Regions from separate parts of the Homo sapiens genome. Here regions 2 and 3 are each linked to region 1. Evidence: promoter capture Hi-C in 16 types of primary human blood cells and fetal thymus (Javierre and others, 2016). All regions are on one chromosome and are shown on one strand. Each heading gives the region's core, a stretch centred on a gene start or on the middle of the fragment in contact. The rest is flanking DNA. Distances are from core to core; before and after follow the strand shown.

What was found. Contacts are between HindIII fragments. The CHiCAGO score rates a contact against its expected background, and 5 or more counts as called.
Region 2: a contact is called between a fragment that was not itself captured here and the fragment with the promoter of CCDC174 in region 1, in 1 of 17 cell types (total B cells). The highest score is 6.2, in total B cells.
Region 3: the fragment with the promoter of HDAC11-AS1 here is called in contact with the fragment with the promoter of CCDC174 in region 1 in 3 of 17 cell types (total CD8 T cells, naive CD4 T cells and total CD4 T cells); the score reaches 6.4 in total CD8 T cells.

The regions. Positions count from the first base shown.
Region 1 is chr3:14,649,850-14,654,976 of GRCh38, reverse strand. CCDC174 (coiled-coil domain containing 174) reads right to left here and starts at 3,215. Exons shown (of 11, transcript NM_016474.5): 1 at 3,099-3,215; 2 at 447-551. The coding sequence starts at 3,140. LOC124909347 (a long non-coding RNA gene) reads left to right here and starts at 2,856. Exons shown (of 2, transcript XR_007095826.1): 1 at 2,856-3,308; 2 at 3,751-5,127. RefSeq lists enhancers at 2,903-2,972, 3,113-3,512, 3,016-3,674. The HindIII fragment of the contact is 1,793 bases long and covers 1,651-3,443 here.
Region 2 is chr3:15,859,050-15,864,176 of GRCh38, reverse strand. LOC107986064 (a long non-coding RNA gene) reads right to left here and starts at 4,063. Exons shown (of 10, transcript XR_007095831.1): 1 at 3,912-4,063. It also overlaps a transcript of ANKRD28 not described here. RefSeq lists silencers at 4,046-4,365, 4,446-4,725, 4,786-5,035. The HindIII fragment of the contact is 497 bases long and covers 1,711-2,207 here.
Region 3 is chr3:13,477,005-13,482,131 of GRCh38, reverse strand. It overlaps HDAC11-AS1 (HDAC11 antisense RNA 1), which reads left to right and starts at 2,079. Exons shown (of 2, transcript NR_046690.1): 1 at 2,079-2,489; 2 at 5,047-5,127. It overlaps HDAC11 (histone deacetylase 11), which reads right to left and starts at 1,826. Exons shown (of 10, transcript NM_024827.4): 1 at 1,783-1,826; 2 at 738-886. The coding sequence starts at 1,784. RefSeq lists enhancers at 1,105-1,761, 2,411-2,470 and a silencer at 1,461-1,950. The HindIII fragment of the contact is 8,461 bases long and covers 446-5,127 here.

The DNA.
Region 1 (5,127 bases), core at 1,966-4,465:
CAACCTAAATCAAGATTAATGAAAATGTACATATTACAGAGAATTAGTAATACAAATAGTAGACACTATTACCTATAAAACTGGAAAAATTCACAGCTCTTATACACCCTGATATTTTCCGCTATATTCCTATATTATCTAATTGTTTATCTCTATTTGGATACCTAACACTTATAGAACCAGATAACCTTCCATCTGTTTATGAAATGTAAACAATCCACATTTTTCCAAAAGAAGTGCTAAAGAATTAGCACATTACTATGTACTTTTATATAATCTTACTAATTTCTATTTTAATAACATTTCATGCAGATGTTAAATACAAGATAGAGATTTTTCCTTAACATTTATGTGTACAGATACCACTGACAATTTTAAAACACTTAAATATGGTATAATTCTCCCATGTTTGGAACCAATGGAGATAATTAGATCTTATTTTTTACCTTGTTAGTTGTTTTTGGTTTTCCAAAAACTCCAGAATCTTTTAGAAGTTTTTCTTGTTTGAATTCTTCTTGCTTTCGGAAGAGTTCAGCCTTAAGATCTACCAACTAGAATGAAAGCAGTAAGTAAACAAAAATATTAAATTCCTGCAGGTGACTGGATTGCTAAATTATTATAATTTCCAAAGGAATATTTCAAGTTCCGCTAAATGGACAAATATGGCTAAAAAACTAAATGTTTAAGTAACTAAATGTTTAAATGTAGAATCCAGTACACAAATTAAGCTAAGTCATGTTTCATTCTACCTCTGCTGCAAATGCATTTTTACTCTGACTTTCAACACTCGAGGCTTTCCTTAGGCAAGGAGAAAGTGATAAAGCAAAATAAATTAATAAAGTCTGCATCTTTTAGTTTCAGATTAAACTTGCATTATTAAGCACCTTCTCTCTGACTAGCACTGCACTCATTTCATCATCACAACTTATTTCTACAGTGAAATGCTGTAGAAATAACGCTGAAGAGCAGAACATAAACATGAATTAGACATACTCTCTGCCTCAAAGAGCCTACAATGTAACAAGGAAAGTAATTTATACTACCAACAAAATAAAACAAATGACTCTAGAGTGGAAGAAAGTAGCACATAAGTTCAGATAACAGAGCATTTCCTTCTGAGCAGAGTGATCAGAGAAAGCTTAGAGCAGAGCCTTTAAAGACACATTATTTCAACAGCTAGAAATAAAATAGACTGGGTGAATTATAACAGCTCCACGTTTGACTTAATCCATTTCAAAAACCGTAAGCTTGGCTGAATCACACGGTTCAAGAACAGGAAAGAAGGCCAAGGCATAGGGAGTGGGGCAGTTGGGTGAATATTAGTACCTTTCCCTCAGCTACATTAATTACCCCTGCCTACTCTGCAAAAAAGGATATAACAACAGTTTCCTTTTTAATGGTCCAGGTACAGCTGCTTATATGGATGGGCATTTGTAAATCAGATACTTCATCACTGTCTTAATCATCAGATACTTAAAAAAATCACTTTATTTGTTAAGGAAGATAAAAATGGCTGGGTTCAATTTCCGTTTTGGAAGAAATCGATTTAAAAGGTAACCATTTAATAATGCAAAGGGCAGTTTCACTGCAGACCCTAATACTGGAAATTTTTAAAAACAAATGAAAAACTTCTACTTTTTCTTCTAAGCTTACTTAACCACACCAAATTTTCCAGCCACATATCTTCCTAGTCTACAACTGCCTTTAACTTTAAGAGATGCTCAAAAAAATGTAAATTCTCAAATAGCATTCTTATTACAATTACTGCTAACCTGTCAGTATAGGTTGGCTTTAATATTTATAGCTTTCTGGTTCCTGATCTTCAAACAAAATAATAACTGGTACCAATTTTAACCAATAATAGTTACCAATAATAACTAGTACTCAAATATTGGGACACCTATATGTTTTCCTTCCTACTCACTTTGTGTCCTAATACTCTGAAGTAAATTCAAGATTAAATCAAAGGTTGGGCAATTTGCTCTGATGATGAAAAGGCAGCAGCTTTGGAGTCAAGTAGAGTGAGTGAGAAAGGGTCTATCACTAAGATTTCTTCCCCCCGCCCCCCGCCCCTTAGACGGAGTTTCGCTCTTGTTGCCCAGGTTGGAGTGCAATTGCGCGATCTCGGCTCACCGCAACCTCCGCCTCCCCGGTTCAAGCGATTCTCCTGCCTCAGCTTCCCGAGTAGCTGGGATTACAGGCGTGCACCACCACGCCCGGCTAATTTTTTTATTTTTAGTAGAGACGGGGTTTCTCCATGTTGGTCAGACTGGTCTCAAACTCCCGACCTCAGGTGATCTGCCCGCCTCAGCCTCCCAAAGTGTTGGGATTACAGGCGTGAGTCACCGCGCCCGGCTATCACTAAGATTTCTGTCTGTAAGCTGGGGAAAGCTACTTCATCTTTCCAGGCCTCAATTTCATCATCCATAAAACGGAGATATTAATAGCACCTACCTCCTAAAGCCATTGGGAGGATTCAATGAGATAGTGCATATAAAGTGCTGGCACAAAATGTGTACTTAGAACAAGTTTTCTTTCTAGAGTAGCTGATGTAATAAATCTGCTTACATCCTTTCAGACCTCACAACTCCCTATGCCTGCATTAACAACTGTTTAGTTCCAGGGAGGGCACGCTGGACACTTTCGGGTCCTGCGAAATATGTCACACTCTAAAGTTCTGGGAGGACTTTGTGGGTCCCTGGATGGAGGAGAAACCAGGAAGAGGATATGTCTGCATAGCAAAAAGAAGCTAGGGTTCCTCCTGACTGTAAGGGAGAAGGCTGACGAGGTGCAGGTCCTTGTGGGCAGGGCAGAGGTGAGGCACGGAGTTTCCTAACCCACGGGACACCAGGTTCAGATCCGTGTCCGAGGGTTCTGGCCCGGGCGCATGTCAGAGGAGAGTAGCCCAATTCAGGGTCCTGTAAGAAAACTGAACCGGATCCCCGCCGGAGAAGAAAATCCAGTTCGGGGGTTCCTGTTTGAGGGGAGAGGTCAGGTCTCTGGGTCCCCGAGTGAAGAAACAAGCTAGGTCGACATTCTTGTCTGATGGAGACACGGTGAACCCGGAGCCCGTGGAGTTACCTCATACCCTCACTCACCGAGGAGGCCGTGACGTCCAAAGGCTTTTTCCTACGGTCCATGGTCGTGGCAGAGGGTCCCGGTCCAGGAAGGACCCTTTCTACCCGACACAGGCCTCGTAAGCCTACCTCCGTCGCAACCGGAAGTGTCTTCGACAGCGACACTGAGTTTGCGTGAGTTTGCGACGCGAGTTTGTCAGCTCAGCGCCATCTTGAGAAGGTCAGAGTGTGGTGCGTATTACGTTCACCATCATTTTGGAAAGGTCATAGAGTGCGGAGGTTGACGCTAACTGCTAAGGTCATCTTGAGGGCGGAAGGTAACAAGGATTGGTGTGGGCGCCATCTTGAGAAGGGCGGAATAAAGCTTTTGATTGCGATGGACGCCATATTGGGTGGGGCGGATGTGGGGTTGGCGACAAAGATAACGCCATCTTGGGGAAGGCTGACGCTTAAGTAAGTGAACTCGAGCGTCTCGGGAAAGGTGGATTGGGAGGACCGGAAGAATCTTAACTGCAATTCCAGGACCTGCTGCCTGGCACTTTTCACACGTTAAATAGTTGGTTCTTAAAAGAGCGTACGAGATAAGGATTATTATATTAATCTTAGTAGAAATAACAAGAATAATAGCTAACATTAATGTAGTGCTTATTATGGGCCACTTTACATATTTCAGCTCTTAAGAACGTGAACTCCTGGGCCGGGCGCGGTGGCTCACGCCTGTAATCCCAGCACTTTGGGAGGCTGAGGCGGGTGGATCAGGAGGTCAGGAGTTTGAGACCAGCCTGACCAACATGGTGAAACCCCGTCTCTGCTGAAAATACAAGAAAAAAAAAAAATTAGCCGAGCGTGGTGGTGCGCGCCTGTATTCCCAGCTACTCAGGAGGCTGAGGCAGAAGAATCGCTTGAACCTGGGAGGTGGAGGTTGCAGTGAGTCGAGATCAAAAAAAAAAAAAACAAAGAACACGTGAACTCGAAAGCTGACTTTCTGGGTTGGAATCGCTCTTCACGGCTTACTGCTTGTGTGACCTTGGGCAAGTTACTTAACTTCCGTGTGCCTCAGTTTCCAAAGGGGGATATAATTTTATTTACCTAATGGGTCTTAGTGAGGATTAGATGAGTTAAATGAGCTAGTCTTGATAAAAATGTTAATGATTATGGTAGACAGACCAATCACCCTCACCCCGACTCCCAGATGTCTACCTTCTAATCCCCAGAATCTGGGTATATGGTGACCTTTATATAGCAAAAGAGAATTGGCAGAGATGATGAAATTAAAGCGATTGAGATGGGGAGCTAGCCTGGATTGTGCAGGTGGGTCCCCTATCATCAAAACCATCCTTATAAGGGGTAGACAGGATGGCCAGAGTCAGACAGAGATCAGAGATGCTTTGAAGAGGGAGAGTGGGACCACATGCCTAGGTATGCAGGAGGCCGCTAGAAAAAGCAAAGAAATGAGCCCTCCTCCAGAGTCTCCAGAAGGAATGCAGCATTGCTGACACGGTGATTTTAGTCTTGTAACACTCATCTCAAACTTCTGACTTCCAGAACTCTACCAGAATACGTTTGTGTTGTTTTAAGCCACCAAACTTGTGGCAATTTGTTACAGCAGCAAGACGAAAGTGATCATAATGATTGTAACAGTGGCATTTAGTATATGTGGGGCATGTGTATGACTCTTTGCATAGATTATATTATATAATCCTTGCAAGAATCCTAGAAGCGGACCTATTATCCACCATATTAGAGAGAAGAAAAATGAGACTCATCACATCCTCATCTCATCTGTCTTTATGGAGAAAATGGGAAAAGGGAAAAGGAGAGGGGAATTGAGGCAGTTGACTGTGTTCAGTCTTATTTATTTATTTTCATTTGTTTATTTCTCCAAGTCCGCCAGTCTCTGAAATTAGAACAGTAAGCAATATGAGATAATCGGGCCTAATAATGTTGTGATTCTCTTTTCTTAATGGAGTGGAATGTTCTGTCCCCACAAGAAGGATTATACCTTATAGACTTGTCTTGTTCAGATTCTGTATTTACCCATTTTACTGAA
Region 2 (5,127 bases), core at 710-3,209, 1.2 Mb before region 1:
GATGATACGGTTTTTTTTGGTGTTAAGAATTTCCCTAATATGTAAATATTTCATTATAAGCAGGAATAGCCTTATAATGAAGATTTTAAAAATATTAGAATGTGAATATGCACCTTATTTTTGCTCAATTGCATAGTTTTTTTTTTTTTTTTTTTTTTTTGAGACAGAGTCTCACTGTGTCACACAGGCTAGAGTGCAGTGGCACGATCTCAGCTCACTACAGCCTCTGCCTCCCAGGTTCAAGCAATTCTCGTGCCTCAGCCTCCTGAGTAGCTGGGATTACAGGCATGCGCCACCACACCCAGCTCATTTTTGTATTTTTAGTAGAGACAGGGTTTCGCCATGTTGGCCAGGCTGGTCTCAAACTCCTGGCCTCAAGTTATCTGCCCACCTTGGCCTCCCAAAGTGCTGGAATCACAGACATGAGCTACTGCACCTGGCCGTATAGACTTTTTTTTCCTATTTTTTTCAGCAGCTATGAAAATGTACAAGGCATCTTCAAAAAGTTCATGGAAAATGCATATTATGAAAAAATATGCATGGATTTTAATTTTTCCTTTTTTTTTCTTTTTGAGACAGAGTCTTGCTCCATTGTCCAGGCTGGAGTGCCATCTTGGCTCACTGCAACTTCTGCCTCCCAGGCTGAAGTGATTCTTGTGCCTCAGCCACCCAAATTATTGGTATTACAGGCACGCACCACCACATCTGGCTAATTTTTGTATTTTTAGTAGAAACAGGCTTTGGCCACATTGGCCAGGCTGGTCTCAAATTCCTGGGCTCAAGTGATCCACCTGTCTTGGCCTCCCAAAGTGCTGGGATTACAGCCATGAGCCACTGTGTCTCGCTGGATTTCAATTTTTTTTCACCAACATAAACTTATATTAACTTGTTATAATGTATCTGAACAGGATACAGTTTGCAGCACTAAGAAGGATAAGACGTCAGTTTGAAAAGAGCCCGTATCAGAACAACATGAATTCTGTTAAAATTGAGGCAAGAACAAACCTCAAGTTTATGGTGAAGCTTGGGTGGAAGAATGGTGAAATCATTGATGCTTTATGAATAGTTTATGGGGACAATGCCCCCTGCCCCCCAAAATAAGCAGTTTACAAATGGATAACTCATTTGAAGAAGGGACAAGACGATGTCAAACATAAAGCCCACAGTGGCAGACCATCCACATCAATTTGTGAGGAAAATATCTTGTTTGTATCCTAATTGAAGAAGACTGACGATTAACCGCACAAACAAGAGCCAACACCACAGACATCTCAATTGGTTAAGCTTACATAATTCTGACTGAAAAATTAAAGTTGAGCAAACTTTCAACTCAATGGGTGCCCAAACCATTGGGCCCAGATCAGTTTCAGGCAAGAGAAAGGCTGTCAATAGAAATTTTAAACAAGTAGGGTCAAGACCCTAAAACACTCGTACACTTCTTCAAAGAATTCTAACAGATGAAACATGGCCTTACTATTATGATCCTGAAGACAAAGCACAATCAAAGCAATGGCTACCAACAGGTGGAAGGGTCCAGCCAAAGCAAAAGCAAATCAGTCAAGAACAAAGGTCTTGGCAACAGTCTTTTGGGATGTTCAAGAGATTTTGCTTGACTTTCTGGAGGGACAATGAATGATAACATCTGCTTATTATGAAAGTATTTTTGAGAAAGTTAGTAAAAGCTTTAGCAGGAAAATGTTCAATAAAGCTTCACTAGAGAGTCCTTCTCCAACATAATGCTCCTGCTCATTCCTCTCATCAAACAAAGGCAATTTTGTTAGGATTTTGATGGAAACCCGTTAGGCATCCACCTCATACTCCTAATTTGGCTCCTTCTGACTTATTTTTGTTTCCTAATCTTAACAATTCTTTAAAAGGCATGCATTTTTCTTCTGTTATTAACATTACATTATTACTGTAAAAAAGACTGCATTGACATGAATTCCCAGGACCCTCGGTTCTTTAAGGATGAACTAAATGGCTGGTATCATTGCTTATCATCTTGAACTTGACAAATCGTATGTTGAGAAATAAAGTTTATATTTCAATTTTAACCTTTAATTCTATTTCCCACAAACATTTGAAGTACCCTGTAATTGCTGTCATAATAATAATATAGTGTAATGGTCCTTCAGAGTTTTCCACAGCCTTTCATATCACTATCTTATCTGATGGTGTGAGATGAGTAGGCCAGGAAATGTTAAGCTTAGTTTTTTTATGAATGTTGAAACTGAGACACAGAGAAGTTAAATGGTGCTCATGGTGCAGAAGGGTGAGAACCCAGCTAGGTGTGAAGCATCATCTATAAGGAGAGCTCCATGCCTACTATAATGCAGATGGTACATCATAAAACATTTTCATTAATTACTGTTAATTAGAAAATTTCAAAAGAGTCCTGGAAAGTTTCATTAGCTTCAATCACAAAATCTATTAAAATGCATATTTAGTCCATAAATTCATACTCTCAAACACACTTACATTCTCCCAAAAAATCATCTTTGCCATGTTCCTAATCAGGTTCTCATTGTGTTTTTAAATTCTAGAAATTTAACCTAGAGGAGAGATTATTTGGTGGGAAGAGGAGGGCTATATTAATTCCTGGCTCAACATCCATAGTGCTTAACAGGCTTACTTATAAATGAGGGTAAATCCTAACACTCCTAGGCCAAGATAGAACACGACTGGATATGGCACATTGGTAATTATTTACAAAGCTAACTTGTAATCACAAAGTACTGTAGTAATATTATCACAACATCTTTGTTTTGGAGAACTCAAGTGCTTTCACGACATTAACTCATTCACCCTCACTGAACTGATAAGGAGGGGTTGGGTGACAAATAGTATCTCTATTTTATCTGCTGGAGTTGAAATAAAGGGTAAAGGAGCTACTGAAGAGAATGCAAAGCAAGAGCAGTTTGATTTCCTTTTTAGCCTCATTATGACGGTTAGATCACAGTTATGAGAATTCCTCCATTTTAAGTAGAAAATATCATGACGAGGGACATAATTTTAGGTAAGAAATTGTTTCAATGGAACCATAGCATGGATATCTCAAAGAATATTGGAAGGGTCGTACTATCAGTTAATCAGGTGTGTTTTTTTATCTTGCACTCTATTTTCTTTTTTTTTTTTTTTTTTGCGTGGCTAAATCTAAGTTTTTTGTTATAAGTGCAGCATTACAATAATCTGATAGTCCTGACGAAGATCTCCATTTCTCTAGACTGCCATTAGGCTCGAATCGATTCTCTAAAGTCCATCCCAAGAGACACAACTGATGTAGTGGGTAGAAGAGACTTTTAAAAACCGACCCTGACGTCACACGTTTGTGTTTTAACCATCTGCACCTTTTATAAACCAGAGGCTGGAGCCGCCCGGGCGGACAGACCCAGGCGCACAACAATCTTCTCCCACACGAGCCTGGAATGGCAACAGCGTGCGGCTGGCTAAGAAAGAAAAGCCGTTTCAGAGCTGCGGGGTGGCGTGGGGGTGTGTGTGGCAGGATGAGGGAGTCATTCCTCTTCTCCTCCATCCAAGGATGCTATTTATTAGAAATCCTGCACATCTTTTTTTTTGTTTGTTTAAGAAAATTGATTTCTCTCGAGTGGGAGGCAAAATGCTTCAGATGCGAAAGGGGTGGAGGCAGCAAGCCTGGCTGGGGAGCTTTCAAGGGAAAACCACACAGCTTAGCTTCGGATTGGGACTACGGGCAGAAAAACGATTGGGCGTCCACAACCTGTTCGGCTGCGAAGACGACGCCCTTCCGTCCAGAGTGCCAGCATCACCCCCGCCCCTCACCCGGTCTCGGCCTGCAGCCCCCGGGGAGGACAGCAGCGCCCCCCATTCCGTGACCACCTCTCATCCCACTCCTTGGCTCCCCACCCTCCCCAAACCCAGGGGCACATTCTCACGCTTTCTCCACGTGCAAGTCCGGCTCGCCCATCGCCACTCGCCGCAGCCCCCAGGTGCCCACCCCTTCCAGCCCTTCCGGTCCCTCACCCAGCTCCTTAGTCTTGCCCTGGCTGAGGGAGGCGTCCGCGCTCCACCTCCACGTGCGAGTCCCGGGCCGTTCCCCACCTCCCCACGCCACCTCCGCCCCGGACTCCGCCTACCACGCCTGAGGCGGCAGCGCCTGGGAGCCGGGACACCTGGCCGCCCTCCCCCGGCCCGCACCCCTGCCGACTCCCCCGCCCCGCCCGAGCCGCGGCCCCGCGCCCACCCTTGCGGCTTCCTCCGCATGCCCCTCCCGTCGCGGTAGGCGGGGGGGTCACCAGCGAGCGCGGCGGCGTGGCCAATGGGCGCTCGGCTTACTCTGGCCTCTCCCCCGCGCGGCCGCCAATCGCGGCGGGCGGTGGTGGTAATATTGTGGAGTTTGGATGCCGCCGCTGCCGCGGGCTGGAACGGCGCGGCCGCGGGGGCTGCCAGGGTATTTCGGGAAGGGGGCGTGAGGAGGCGGCGGCGGCAGCGGCGGGTAGGGCAGGCAGCAGAGGGAAGGAGAAAGAAAGGAAGGAAGAGGGCGGGGAGTCCTCAGAGGAGGAGGCGGGACCGGCCGGGCACCTCACCTCTCGGCGGCGGCGGCGGCGGCGGCGGCGGCGGGCGGCCGGGGAGGCGGCGCCGCCCCCTGCCCGCAGGTCTTCTCAGCGCAGTCGGCCGCGGACCCGCTGGTCCCGGGCAGCGGCCAAGGCTACTGGGGCGGGAGCAGTGGGCCGGTCGGCGGCGGCAGCGGCAGCGGCGGAGGAGGAGGAGGCTGGAGTGGGCGCGGAGGCGACCGCCATGGCGTTCCTCAAACTCCGTGACCAGGTAGGTGAGGGGCTGCAGGGCGGGATCGCGCCGTCCGGGAAGGAAGGGAAGCAGGGCGGACCGGCGGTGTGGGCCGCTGGGACGCCCGCTCGGCGGGGTGGTTGCGAGGGAAACGGGGGTCCTGCCCCGGGGACCTGCGCGAGACGGCGGGCCGGGGTCCGCGGGCGACCCGCCTGTCAGAGCTGCCGGGGCCTGGGTGAAGCCCACGTGCCGACGGGGGTCTAGCCGCTGCAGCAAGAGGGGCGGGTTCCACGCTCACCGCCCTCGCGTCGGGCGAGCTGCCGGGCAATCGCTTCCTCTTTCCTGCCAGGTGAGGCTCGGGCCTAA
Region 3 (5,127 bases), core at 830-3,329, 1.2 Mb after region 1:
AGTTCCAAACCCAACTCCGCCTCTTGTAACTGTGTTACTTCAGCCACTAATGGGAGCTGTGTCCTTCCCTGGAAAGAGGTCACAAGCAGGCAGCCAGTGTGCCCAGTTCGGTCTACAGGTGGGCTTTTACAATCTTATAATGAGTGCCATATTAAGAAATCAGGGCCGGGTGTGGTGGCTCACGCCTGTAATTCCAGCTACTTGGGAGGCTGAGGCAGAAAAATTGTTTGAACCTGAAAGGCGGAGGTTACAGTGAGCTCCTGAGCCTCTGCTGCGATTGTGGTGCCTACCCCGAGGGCTGCTGTGAGGACTGGACTGGAATTGGGTGCACATGTTTCCTAATCATTCTAGGACACAATTTCCCCCATCTGTAATCAAGAGAGGTGCGGTGGAGGTGCTCTACCTCCTGACTCTCTGAACCTTAGGAAATGGACTCCTCCAAGCTTCACCTTCCCTGTGCCCATCAGTAATCAGCTACCTTTCCACTAGGCCTCTTGGGCAGAGGCAGGACTTAGGCCCACAGGATGGGGAGCCAGGGAGAGTCTGAGTCAGGGACATCATATCGTGATTAGGAGTCTGTGTTGGAAAAATCATTTTGGGCGGAAGCATGGGTGGAAGGCCATCCGAGGGCTGAAACTGAAGATGGGAGAGAGCCTGAGGCTTATGTTGGGGATGAGGACGGAGAGGACAGGTGGGTTGGAGGAAGCAGATGAGAGTCCAAGGGGGACCTTCCATACCTTTTAGGAAATTGATCACTTTGCCCCATTTTCCGGCATCAAAGGGATGCAGCTTCTCCAGGCCCATGAAGGTGATGTTGTAGCGCGGCGAGTACACGATTGGCCAGCGTGTCTCTGGCACATGCTGGTACAGCTGGGTTGTGTGTAGCCTACCGTGTGGAAAAAGACAGACGCACAGCTGGGGCAGCCTCGGCAGAAAGCAGCTCCCTCCCGAGCCCGCCTGGACTGACCCACCAGCCATTGCCCAGCACCACTAGCCCCTCAGCCGCAGACAAGGGCCCCTCAACAACAGCTGCTTAAACTGGCTGCCTTTCCCGGAACCCAATTCCAATCCAGTCCTCACAGCAGCCCTGGGGGTAGGCACCACAATCGCACCAGAGGCTCAGAGAGCAGACCAGGTGTGCCCAAGGTCACAGTGCAGGTCTGTGGAGAAGCAGGCGTGCACTCAGGTGTGTCTGGCTGCAAGGCCTCCGCGCATCACCTCTGCACCGTAATAAATGCCCCCACAGCTGTGTGGCACAAGGCTTCGGCTGCAAAATGTGTGGCTGTTGTGAGGACTCAGAGAATGCAACTGAGGAGCTGAGCACAGTAAGCACTCAGAAACCCAAGTCGGGACCCAACCTGAGCCAGGGCGGGGGGCGGGGATCCCCTGACCCCGCTGCGCTGCTAACCCTTCCCATCACACCCTGGCAGTCGTCACCCAGAGACAGAAATCCGCCCCAGTGGCTGCCTCCGTGGGGGCGTCCGCGTAGCCAGGGGGCTGGGCAGCGCAGACGTCAGACCCGCGCACATCGCCCGACCGCTCCGGGTCCGGGCCCAGGCCCGCGGCCGGCGCGCGTCCCTCGGGCCACCGAGCAGGGGCGCGGGGCTGGCCTGGCGCGCCGGGAGGGCCTGGAAACACCCGTCCCGAGCGTCCCTCACCCCTCACCAGCAAATCTGGGCCCTTACCTGGCGCGCCCGCCCGGCCGTCCCCGCCCTCGCCCTAGCGCGCCCGCCCACCGGGACCCCTGGGAGCCCACCCCCGCCCTCGCCCCGCGGCACTCACATCCCGGGGCCGGCCCTCCCAAAGCTGGCCGCAGCTCCGCGACCGGGCGGGGCGGGGCGGGGCGCGGGTGGGGCCAGCCCAGGACACGCCCCCGGGCTTAGCCGCGTCCTCTGGGGGCAGAGCTCTGGCCGATTTGGCCCGCCCCGCCAGTGTTGCGACACAGAGAGCCTGCCCGCAGGAAGGCCACCCCCAACGCCCATCAAGCCCGAAGTCCCGCCTCCGCAGGCAAATACCCGGTGGAATCCCGCCTGGTTCGGAAGCTCCGCCCCCTGGCGGGAGGGCCAAGCGGGTTTCACCCCGGCCTCGCGGAAGGGGCGCGACCACCGTATGTCCTGTTCCTGCGCTTCCCAAGCTGGGTAGAAACGGCGAGAGGCTGGGGGTTAGAAACGACAGGTTCCCGGCGGGCTGTGCCGGGGCTTCGCTGTGTGACCTTGGGCTGGCGTCTGGGCTCTCTGGGCCCTTGTTTCCGCGAGTTAAACGTAGGGGCGGGGGAGTTTCTCTGGCCCTGCCGCCTGTGACCTAAGGAGCCCCGTGACCTCTCCGACCCGAGCCCACCCCCGGCCCAGTCTGCGAGCAGCTCCGGGACAAGCACTCCCGGCGAAGACATGTAGGCTCTCAGAGCCTGCGTTTCCCTCTGTAGAGCAGGCCTAGTTACTGTCTTCAGGGTGCACGCGTCTCCGTCCCCGACCCGCACCCTCACCGCCGGGGTAAGCTGAGCCAGGCCCAAGCGACAGCTGGGGTTGTCCGTGGGGCTGCAACCCAGGAGGAGGCCCCAACAATAGAGCCCCAGAGGACGGAGACAATGGGCCTCTCTGTCGGCCCAGCCGTCCCCGCCATCCAAACAGAAGCAGCTGACGGAGGACTGCCGGGCTGGGATCCCTGGGCTCCGCGGGGGCGGCTGTGTGCCAGGGCGGGGCACAAGGGAAGCGCACAGACGTTTGAAGAGGGGCCCCCGTGTGCCTGCCATGATTGCATGATGGCATCTGAGCCTCACAACCTAATCCTGAGAAAGGTGCCATAATCACCCCAACTTTATCTTGAGGGAACTGAGGTTCGGGCCTGGATTAAACCCAAACTCGGCCACCCGCCAGCATAGTGGCTTTGGGCAGGTTGCTTCAGCCTTCTGGTCCTTCATGTCTGCATCTGAAAATGAAGTACTGGGCCGGGTGCGGTGGCTCACGCCTGTAATCCCAGCACTTTGGGAGGCCGAGGCGGGTGAATCACCTGAGGTCAGGAGTTCGAGACCATCCTGACCAACATGGTGAAACCCCGTCTCTACTAAAAATACAAAAAATTAGCTGGGCGTGATGAAGGGCGCCTGTAATCCCAGCTACTCGGGAGGCTGGGGCAGGAGAATCGCTTGAACCGGGGAGGGGAGGTTGCGGTGAGGCCGCGCCATTGCAATCCAGCCTGGGCGACAAGAGTGAGACTCCATCTCAAAAAAAAAAAAAAGGAAGAAAATGAAGTTCTGGTTGCACTTCATTCTCTGGATTTCATGGGCAAGTCCAGGGAATCAAGAGACAATAATGTTGATTATTATTCAGAGACCATCTGTCATGTGCTAAGTTGAAGTCCAAATGCTTTTTGCTTGTCGAACTCTTCTGACAGTCCTAGGAGGCAAACTATTGTCATCCCCATTTTATAGATAAAGAAATTGAGGCACAGAATGGTGAAGTAACTCACTCAAAGGTCAGGGATGTGGGCAGATGTAAACCACAGAAGGAATAAGTACTATTTTATAAAGTGACAGAGTGCATGCAGTGGCCCTGTGGCATTTGTGAGAGACCGACTTCCCCTCAGGGAACTTGCTCTGTAGTTTGGGAAGCCACACAGATGATCCTCTGGTTGGGAGAATGAGGATCTGGGCAGCCTGGACCTGAAGCTGAGGCCAAAGAGAGTGGGATTGGTCTGAATAAGTGGGTTTTTAAATTTTTTTAATTTTTAAATTATTTTTTAAGAGACACAGCCTCACTATATTGCTAAGGCTGGTGTCTAACTCCTGGGCTCAAGCGATCCTCCCACCTTGGCCTTCCAAAGTGTTGGGATTACAGGCATGAGTCACAATGCCTGGCCAAGGGTTTTTAAAATTGTGTCCTGGTAGCTAAAGAGTTAAGTGGTCTGCGGAGGCCCTGGAGCTTGTGAACACCTTCAAACCACCATGAAAGCCTGGGCCAACCGGCCGCATTATCACGTGGGGAAGAAATAAGTGTTATGCACGCTGCTGTGTTTGGGGGCCTCTTTGTTGCAGTATCCTAGTGTGTCTGCTCACTAAGACACAGCACTGGGGACACAGCTGCACAGAGCAGATGAGTTCAGAAAGCCTTTGTCAAGCTAATAGTTTAGTGGGAGAGACAAGCCTTAACCTAGGAAGGAAAATTGTGATTACAAAATGTGGTAACTGCTGTGAAAGGCATAGGCTGAGACTGTGAGAGAGAGAATAATGGGGTCCCTGATTTGGACAGTGGTCAGGGAAGGCCCCTTTGAAGAAATACATTTTTTCACTTTTTAACCATATGTATTTTATTTTTAAATGGCATTTAATGAAACAAGACACTGACTTATTGAACATTGTATACTTAACTGTTTTTCCCCTTTCATGCAATATTGAAATATATTTCAACTTAAAACAAATAAGAAAGTCCCAAATATAACACTTCTTTTGAAAAATACAGGCACGGCTGGGCGCGGTGGCTCACGCCTGTAATCCCAGCACTTTGGGAGGCCAAGATGGGCGGATCACCTGAGGTCAGGAGGTCAAGACCAGCCTGGCCAACATGGCGAAATCCCATCTCTACTAAAAAGTACAAAAATTAGCCAGGTGTGGTGGCAGGTGCCTGTAATCCCAGCTACTCAGGAGGCCAAGGCAGGAGGAGCTTGAATCCAGGGGCGGAAGTTGCAGTGAGCTGAGATCACGCTACTGCGCTCCAGCCTGGGCAACAAGAGCAAGACTGTCACACAAAAAAAGAAAAATACAGGCACGCAAAGGATATTACAGAAATGCACCAAACATGAATTATTGGCACAGATACAATATTTCAAAACACTAACTAATATTAGATTGAGACATCCTATTACAACATTAAAACCATGCCCCTTTCAATTCAAGTGAGCACCTCTATTTCCATTCCAAGACCCTGTGATTTCATACACATTTAACACAACGGTAACAATAACAGTAATGCTAGCTAGTATTTGTTATGCCCTTAATGAGTGCCAAGCTCAGCTAAATATGTAAAACATGTTTTGTTTGTTTTATTGGTGAAGAGATGAGTTCTTAAACAACCAGAAGATACTGCAGGTTCAAAGTCCCGGAGGCCAGAAGGAGCTTGCATTCAAATAAGAAAA